Regions from separate parts of the Homo sapiens genome. Here region 2 is linked to region 1. Evidence: promoter capture Hi-C in 16 types of primary human blood cells and fetal thymus (Javierre and others, 2016). All regions are on one chromosome and are shown on one strand. The core of a region is centred on a gene start or on the middle of the fragment in contact, and the rest is flanking DNA. Distances in the headings are between cores, read along the strand shown.

What was found. Contacts are between HindIII fragments. The CHiCAGO score rates a contact against its expected background, and 5 or more counts as called.
Region 2: a contact is called between a fragment that was not itself captured here and the fragment with the promoter of PLCD4 in region 1, in 1 of 17 cell types (M1 macrophages). The highest score is 5.9, in M1 macrophages.

The regions. Positions count from the first base shown.
Region 1 is chr2:218,605,199-218,610,056 of GRCh38, forward strand. It overlaps PLCD4 (phospholipase C delta 4), which reads left to right and starts at 2,701. Exons shown (of 16, transcript NM_032726.4): 1 at 2,701-2,872. The HindIII fragment of the contact is 12,670 bases long and covers 1-3,191 here.
Region 2 is chr2:218,477,479-218,482,336 of GRCh38, forward strand. USP37 (ubiquitin specific peptidase 37) reads right to left here. Exons shown (of 26, transcript NM_020935.3): 17 at 4,592-4,756; 18 at 2,172-2,237. Among named protein-coding and RNA genes, the nearest start is that of VIL1, 61 kb to the left of the region's middle. The HindIII fragment of the contact is 4,909 bases long and covers 382-4,858 here.

The sequences.
Region 1 (4,858 bases), core at 1,451-3,950:
TTTTTTAAGAGACAGAGTCTTGCTATGTTGCCCTGGCTGGTCTGAAACTTCTGTACTCAAGCAATCCTCCTACCTCGGCCTCCCAAAGTGCTGGAATTACAGGTGTGAGCCACTGTGCCTGGCCTTATGTTGATGATTTTTAAATGGAATTTACTGTTTTGAGTTGCATTTTTGATCAGGAAGGAGTTGGGCTTTATTTCAGAAGTTTGAGTAGTTTGGTTCGATAGTCTGGGGAACTGATCTCAGACTTTCCAGCCTGAGTGTCCTGACAAGCGGAGACATTTAATTGGGTGGCATCTGCTCTGGATGTCAGGAAGAAGGTCTAGGCAGGCCTGGGTGGCAGGGCGAGAGTACCATGTTTAGGTCTTCCTCTTTGCCAGCTGCTGCTTCATTTCAGTTTAGGGCTTCTAGGCTTTTCCTGGGCATGGTTCCCAGAAAGTCCCTCTGCTGCTACTGCCCTGATCAGGTTTCTGGATCTGTTAATAATAGACAACAGTGGGGGAAGGGGCAGCCAGGATCATGGTGGAAATAGGAATAACCATACCAGATGGACATTTACTGTGCCCAGGGGGCCCTGTCTGTCTGCTCCCTCCCTCTGTTTCATGAGAGTCCTGCAGTGGGCATGCCTTGGCACTCTGGAACCATACTAACCTTGTGAAAGTCTCCAAGTCCCTGCCCCAAAAATCAGAACATATGGGCTGAAGAATACTGTTGTATTCATGGGAACATTGAAACAGAATATTTGAGATCTAGACTCTCCCAGAAAATCCACTATGAGTGATAACACCCCTCACAGATTACCCAAGAGGGAAGGAGGTTGGGCAGCATTAAATTGATGCAAATAGTGACTCAGAAAGATGGTATATAATCTGGGGGTATAGAAGAGGAGTGTGGACTGTGAAGGTGAGGCTTGGAAAAATAAGCTGGCCATGTTGGGGAAGTAGAAATGGGAGAGCAAGACAAGCATGTAAAACAGGGCCTCTATTAAGTCAAATCTGAAATCAGCACAGTTTAAACTACGATGCCCCCCAATCTTCCTGTTCCCCATGAATGGCCTCCCTCCTAATGTGTCCCCTTCCTTCATACTACTACTCTTCTATCAAAACCTGCTCTCAGTAAAGAATATAGACAACCCAACCTAGGTATAAATTATTTAAAATCTACTTTGACCTTAGGATTGAATTTTTAAAAAATTATTTATAATCGGCTGGGTGCAGTGGCTTACGCCTGTAATCCTAGCACTTTGGGAGGCCAAGGCAGGTGGATTGCCTGAGCTCAGGAGCTCAAGACCAGCCTGGGCAACACGGTGAAACCCCGTCTCTACTAAAATACAAAAAAAAGTAGCTGGGGGTGGTGGCATGCACCTGTAATCCCAGCTACTCAGGAGGCTGAGACAGGAGAATTGCTTGAACCCGGGAGGTAGAGGTTGCAGTAAGCCAAGATCACGCCATTGCACTCCAGCCTGGGCAACAGCGAGACTCTTATCTCAAAAAAAAAAAAAAAAAAAAAAAAAAATATATATATATATATATATACACACACACACATATACATATACATATATGTATATTTAAAATCATTAAGCCTTCAAAAGTTAACACAGATATATGATATTTTAAATGAGACCTAAAAAAATAAATTTAAAAACACATATAGAAAATATATCAAGAGAATGTATAGCTTAATAAATTATTAAGTGAAGACCCTTGTTAGCACTTAGAACTAGAAATAGAGTTTAGCTAGCTATGCCAGAAGCCCCCTCTGTGTCCCATCTCACCACAATTCCTCCCCCTCCCAACAGTAACCACTATCCTGACTTTTATAGTAATCACTTAGGAGGATTTTATTTTAATGGGACTAAAAAATGTAGCTATAATCACTAATGGTAAAATATTAGGCAGTTGAGGGATGCTTGTGGAAACCATGATAGGCAGCCAGACGTCAGCACACTTAAAATTACACCATTTCACACAGTTCCCCTCTGAGCCTATGCTTCATCTCTGCACACATCTTTATAAACATGCATGTATGTCCTGAAGGTGCTACCTCCATTCTGAGGGCTATGACTTATAACCCAGAGGTGCTGAACAGATGCTTGTAGGAGGAACGAATGGATGTTTAAAAAAAAATGAGCTGTTTCACACGTTCATCTATGCATTCTTTCAATATTTAATGAGTGCCTAAAATATACATAGATTCTAACCTATCTGTCCCTCTACATTCTATCATCATTCCTGTCCTCCCCTTCTCCTCGTCTTCCTCTTTTCCCATCTTATTTCTTTCTTTTCCTGTGGGACGGAGCTACAGTGAGTGCCCTGCAGGCAGGATTCAGAGATACAGGAGCAGGCCAGTGGAAACAGACACTATGGAAAGGAGCCAGATTAAATAAGGGCAAAAACAGCCGTATTACATGCAGGAACCAGAATGAAAAGCAGTGATTCACAGAGCACTGCAACTGAGGACACTCCCTTCACTTTGAGAGCTACTGCGGGATTGGGGTCAATGAGGGCTGGCATCAAGATGAAGGGCAGCCAGGCTCCTCCCTGGAGATGTGCTGCCCTTAATCCTTCTCTCCCCACCCCACCCCCACTACTCCCTCACATTGACCAGTGTCCTGGGCCTTTAAGAGTTGGATGGGCTGGACTGGAGAGAGCTCACACCTCTCCCCTTCTTACTGCTTCCCTCCGGCTATAACTTGCCAGTCACAGCAGCCAGCTGCTGTAGAAGAGGGGAGGAAACAAGCCAGTGCAAGGGGAGCAAAAGAGAAAAGGAGCCAGGCTGGGCTTCCTGATCCCACAGCATCGCAGAGCTCGGGAGGCACAGCTCACAGACACAGGAAACACAGGACTGCTATTCTGCTCTCCTGCCCACGGTAAGGATCTGGAAGCTCTGACTACCCTCTGCTCTAAGCTCTGTCTTCCCTGAGTCCCTACCTCTGCCCTCTAGATGCTTATCCACCCTGATTAAATTGTACCCTAGACTCCTTTCCTCATCCCAACAGCTCTACAGGGCTCCCACCTCCTGGTTCTCTCTAGCTTATCCTCCTTTATCCTTACAGCTTTCCTCCTGGCTGTGTCAGTCGCCCTTTATATGAGGTACCTCTTAGCTTATGCAGGGCCAGAAGTGCCAACCCTAGCCACTCCTGAGGTGAACTCCACCCCCAATAAGGGAAGAAAAAATTGGAGTAGCTAAGCTTTAGCATAGATTCATTAACAGTTTGTTGAGGGTTGCAAAATAGGGGTTGGCCAAGAACCATGGGGAATCAGAGATCCCTGGTAATAGAGAGAGTTATGAAAGTCCCTTAGAAAGTTCTCTAAAGAACTTGTTCTTTGCCTATTCCATGGGCCAGAGCAGTTTCTTAGTGCACCAGAGTGCTACGTTGGTAAGAAAACCTACTTCTAGTTCTGCCTGTGCCATTAACTAGCTACGGGACCTGGAGCCACAACTTCCAGATCTGTGATACGAGAGAGTTTAGGGTTTCCCAGACTTGCCTGTGTACCAAGTGTACTTGTTAAAAATAAATATATTATTGAGCCCCACCCTGGGTAACTCTGATCTGGTAGATTTTTGGGTAGGGCTAAGGATCTCAATTTCAAGACATTCCAGAGGCTATTGATGTAGCTGGGAATGTCTGGATTAGATGTGTTATAAAAGAACTGGCCGGGCGCGGTGGCTCACACCTGTAATCCCAGCACTTTGGGAGGCCGAGGCGGGTGGATCACGAGGTCAGGAGATTGAGACCATCCTGGCTAACATGGTGAAACCCCGTCTCTACTGAAAATACAAAAAATTAGCCGGGCGAGGTGGGTGGCGGGTGCCTGTAGTCCCAGCTACTCGGGAGGCTGAGGCAGGAGAATAGCGTGAACCCCGGGGGGCGGAGCCTGCAGTGAGCCAAGATCGCACCACTGCACTCCAGCCTGGGCGACAGCGAGACTCTGTCTCAAAAAAAAAAAAAAAAAGAACCTTCAAGCTCCAACATTCTGTGACCTGTGACCAGAGCCAATTTGTCCTCTATATGAACCAGGTTAGGCATAATCCTTCTCAGAAGCAAGGGAGTAGACAAAATGATTCTCTTCTTTCTTGCCCCTCAGAGAGACCTGAGACACCCTGAATCCCACTGTAATCTCCTTGGTGCCATTGGTAACTCTGCCAAAGTCCATCTCTAGGTGACATGAAGTCTCTTAGAAATTGAGGACCAAATTGCGCTCTGCAGCTCTGGGCTACTTCCCATCTCATTTTGTGTCCCTATTTTCGTATCTGTATTAGAGAGGTAATTACCATATCATTGAAGATCTCCATATATGTGTCTATGAGTTAATATTTAAGACCAACCTTTCTTATTATCAGATGTCATCCTCTGTGTTTTTCCCAGTGCCCTCACTCCCAAACCCTTTGTTCCTTCTCTTCTCATTGCACCTGCATCAGCTGTGGGCATCCTTCCCATTCTACCATTAGACACCAGAGGAAACAGCAAGACCTAGAATACCTAGGTTCTAACTCACATTGTCTGGGCAGTTTGTTTGGTCAATCTCCTAGGATACAGAGAAAAGTGAGGCTGAGCAGAGGGACACGCATGCTACTGAGTTCTGAACCCAAGTGTCCTCCCTTCTGGACCACAGTCTCAAAATTCTCAAAGGAGATGAGACTCAGAGCCATTGCGAATTAGTGGAGTCAAAAGAGGGAACCAACTGGAAGAGGTGATGGGGAGAAGGGATGAGGAGAAGGAAGAGAAGAGGAGAGACTGACCTAGGTGAGCAAACAGGAAGACAGAGGATTAAGAGAGAGAGAGAGGTGGGGATGGGGCTGGGCATGATGGCTCACGCCTGTAATCCCAGCACTTTGGGAAGCCCAGGCAGGA
Region 2 (4,858 bases), core at 1,586-4,085, 130 kb before region 1:
CTGAGGAAGGCAGTTCCAAAGCCCATGTACTTAGAGGGACCCTTTCTTTCCCAGGAAATGGTGAATAAAATAGTGTATCAAGTTCATCAAGAAATGAGAGCTAAGAAATGAGAAAGAATAACCACAAGAAAGGCAAACAAGAACTATAAAGTCATTTAATGTAAAAGCAAACTATCTTGTAATAATTAAGAGCCTCTGAGGGCAATATCATATTGAAACACAGTGCAATAATTGATACTTAAAATGCTGATTCTAAGTCATTAAGATATACTTAAATTATCCTTAGTTATTTTAAGAATGTAAGGAACAGTGTAACATATTTTAGAAACATTTTCATCCAAACTGTTAAAAATCTTTTAAAAGATAAATCGTTAAAAGGTAAGCTTCAGTTATATAAAAATTCACTTATGTGGAATCCTTTAATGATGCCAGATAAGTAAGGTGTTACTGTGTTGTCTTCTAGGTAAGCCGAAAATAAACTAAAGAAAAAAGTGGTAAAGGTCAAAGAACAAGAACTTTCTTTGATGGAGGTTAACACAAATTCATATGCAATACAAAAAATATATATAAAATGAAAACTAGAAAATACAATTAACCTGAATGTAAAAACTGAAAATAAACATATAGACTAATGGCACCAAGAAATAAGAGGCCAGAGTGGAAATCAGGAAGATTACATAGCAATGTAGATCAAAGAAAAGAGGCAAGTGGTCAGTGATAAGCCCAAACATAGTGTGTGGCTCAGAGCAGCCAGGATATCACTGCACTCCAACCTGAACACTTGAAAAGCCTCCCATGTGCTCAAAAGGGTTTTTAGTATAATAGCCAATTAGCCATCTTAATTCCTCAATTCAGATTTCACGCTCACCAAGCAAACCTGAACATATTAATTTGTTTACCCAGATAAATATTTTGCTGAAGGAGGATGACACCTGGCTACCATTGCACCAGGGTAAATTTGTGACAAAGGACATTGTAGAAGAATCAATGGTATTCTGGTTCATAACTCAGCCTCTTTTAAGTTTGATCGGCATGACAGGTCTTCTAGGGCCTAATCATTCTTTATTGATCAACTCCCAAATTTTCATACCAGCAGACCCTGGAGAACAGATGACCATGCCAAGGTACAATGATGCCCAATGAAATCATTTCTTTCTTGAAACTACAGTGACTTGGTACATAGAGTGCATTCCATTAATGATTACTATATTTACAGAAGGCAGCTTGCCTGTAGCAATGAAAAATATTCATCCTGTAAATGCATCACTTGCTCACTTTCTAAGCAGCCAAGTGGTATTGCTCATTTGTATCTTGAGAACGGGCAAGAGTATTCATATCGGTACCATTTCAGATTTCTAGTCATGTTAGTCATCTGGTTTTAATTGCACTGAAAAATAATTAACAGGAGGAAAAGAAAATAGCAGTTCCCAAATGTCATTTTATGGTTATATAAGCCCCCCAAAAGCCCTTAAACAACAAAAATGTCTCTTCTCTAAAAGTACTTTGGGCCATCAAATTTTTAGAAAAATTAATTAAAAAGTCAAACGACAACTAAATCAATTGAAATGATCTAATCAGGAACTCCTCTAGTAAAATCTTAGAGGAAATATATTTAAAAAGCAAACAAAAAAGGCATGTGCTTCCCTCCTTGGATAAAGTTTGGTCTTAAACAAAAAAATAGGGCATTTGTAGAATGCTTGCTTGTTTTCCTGTCCCCTTTCAAAACAACTCCTATTCGGTGTCAAAGACAAGAAGTTCCAGACTGGCTAACAACAGGTAAAAAATGTTTTGGGATTCCATGCCTATCTTTAAGGAAGAGTGCTTTAGACTAATAGGGGTTATTTTATCCCTTAAATCCCTAGACTCCCTTGTCCTCAGTTAATTTTTAGAGTTTTAGGATGAAAGTATTACATATTAACAATAATAAGTTTTTAAAAGTTTTAAGACAGAATATTGAGAGGATGAGCTAACCTTGTGTCACTGATTAAAATTTGTTATATCCTTCAATATATTCTAAACCAAATTCAGGAAAGTTTCAAAAGTATAGGTAATAAAGAGCATTATCATGCAAAAAGAAAAACAATAATGAAAAGGCAGGGAGGCAATCTTGGAGATTAGGGTAAGCCAAAACCTTAAACACAGATTTTGGGTACATAAGAAATATAACTCACTTTGAAGGTGTAGAAGGGCTGGTGATGCAGGAATTCACCATTTGAGAGGCTTTCAATGGTCTAGAACTATCAGAAAATTAGAAAATATATAATGTATACAAATGAATTATTAAAGATATATATTTAAATTATAAAATGAATTATTCTTACTATAATTCCTTTTATGTCCTCTTGAAAATTGAACAATTATAATACTTTTTAAATTACTAGCAATAGGCCAGGTGCAGTGGTTCACGCCTGTAATCCCAGCACTTTGGGAAGCTAAGTGGGCGAATCACCTGAGGTCAGGAGTTCAAGTCCAGCCTGGCCAACATGGTGAAACCCTGTCTCTACTAAAAATACAAAAATTAGCTGGGTTTGGCGGCGGGTGCTTGTAATCCCAGCTACTCGGGAGGCTGAGGCATGAGAATTGCTTGAACCTGGGAGGCGGAGGTTGTAGTAAGTGGTGATCGCACCACTGCACTCCAGCTTGGGCAACGGAGTGAGACTCCATCTCAAAAAAAAAAAAAATGGCCGGGCATGGTGGCTCATGAGGTCAGGAGATCGAGACCATCCTGGCTAACATAGTGAAAACCCGTTTCTACTAAAAAAATACAAAAAATCAGCCGGGCATGGTGGCAGGCGCCTGTAGTCCCAGCTACGCGGGAGGCTGACGCAGGAGAATGGCGTGAAGCCGGGAGGCGCAGCTTGCAGTAAGCGGAGATGCGCCACTGCACTCCAGCCTGGGCGACAGAGCGAGACTCCGTCTCAAAAAAAAAAAAAAAAAAAAAAAAAATACTAGCAATAGAGGCCAAAAGAGAAAATAAAATACCATCTCTAGGCTCTCCTTGATCCAATAATCTACATAGACAGCACTGGAAATGAAGTCAAGTGTAATACATATGAAAAAAATAACTTGGAGAAAATTACCTTGTCTCAGTTCTTTTAAAGTAATAGCTCTCATTTATGGAGGATTTACTGGATGTCAGACACTGTGCTAAGAACTCTACATATTATTACCTCATTTAATGTTCACAACCATCCTATTGTTTTTCTTATAGACAAGTCAAGGAATCTGTGCAAGGTCTAAAAGCTATCAAATTGTACAGTCAGATAGCTTGGCTTCAGGCCTGTGATCATACACTATTAGTGTGACATAGTACTACTGCCAGCAAGAGTAATAGCTCTACCAGCAGAAGGTAGTATGCACCAAGCAAAAACGTGAAAAGCTGTGAGAGGAAAAAACCAGAAACACTTAGACTCTCTGGGCACATGCCTTTATTAGTAGACCCTTGAGACACTAGTGTAAACTTCTATGAGACGTGGCTCTTTCAGACACTAACTGTATGACTTTAGGAAAATCATTTAATTTCCTTGGTCCTCTTAAGGGTTTGGACAAAAACCTCTAAAATCTCTTCCATCTTCAAAGTTCTACAATTTTATTATTCTACCAAACTAGTGTTCAAGTATAGAAAAGAATGACATAACATATGGCTTCAAAGTAATGCAAGTATGTAGAAAAAAGGGGAACACTCAAAGAAGTCCGAAGGTTTTCCCAGCATACATGATGAAGCAAAAACCTAAAGTAAAGATTACTTCTTTTTTTCTTGAGAAATTTCAGGAGCCATTTAAGTTCTTTACACTGCTGATAATATATGCATGAAGGCATAACATTGAGTATAGGGTTTCTCACATCTGCATGTCCTGAAGAGTCAACTGAAGCATTTGCTAAAAATATTGATTCCTAAGCGCCTATCTCAGACCTACTGAAACAGAACTTCCAGGGAAAAAACACAAAAATCAGTATTTTTAGTGTCTAGGTGACTCTTATTATCACCTAAGTTTGACTCATATTCAAGAAGTATATCAAACTGTCTTCTAGCACTCTAACCAAGAGCACTTCCTAAAAAAGCACCTCACTATGAAAAGCAACTAATAACTTTGGAAAAATTTTAAGCATTTTCTTCAATTACTTCAGGCAGTGATTTAACACTAAAACAAAGTAAAGCAAAATTAAAATCTCCTTCTTGGTCTGATTTCTTTTCTTTTCTTTTCTTTTTTTTTTTTTTTTTGAGATAGGGTCTTGCTCTGATCACCATTCACTGCAGCCTTCATCTCCCAGGCTCCAGCAATCCTCCCACCTCAGCCTCGAGTAGCTGGCACTACAGGTGTGTGCCACCATGCTGGCTTTATTATTTTATTTTTTGTAGAGATGAGGTCATGCTCTGTTGCCATAGGTGGTTTCAAACTCCTAGGCTCAAGCGATTCTCCTGCCTCAGCCTCCCAAAGTGCTGGGATTACAGGCATGAGCCACTGCATCTGGCCATTGATCTGATTTTACCTTGGAGTCATATTATGTAATTCAGTCATTCTTTTGATTAGATACTAAAGCCTTTCTATTTCAAAAGGGAATATAAAGACATAGTCTCTCAAGGACTTACATTGCCATATGTGCACTCCAACCAAGGGTAAAAGGTGGTTTTGTATTTTCAGTGCAATGAGATGACAGGGTCAGGTATCTTGGAATGATGACTTGCTGCCCAATCTTATTGTTAAGCGAGAGAGCCACATTGAAGCTATATCGTTTCAAATGGAGAATGAGGACCCTGAAAAACAGGAGATGACAACCTTACTAATTCATACATAATACATGTATCTTTCTTACAGTAAAAGAGATCACTCTATGTTAGACGACTTTTGATTTAAAA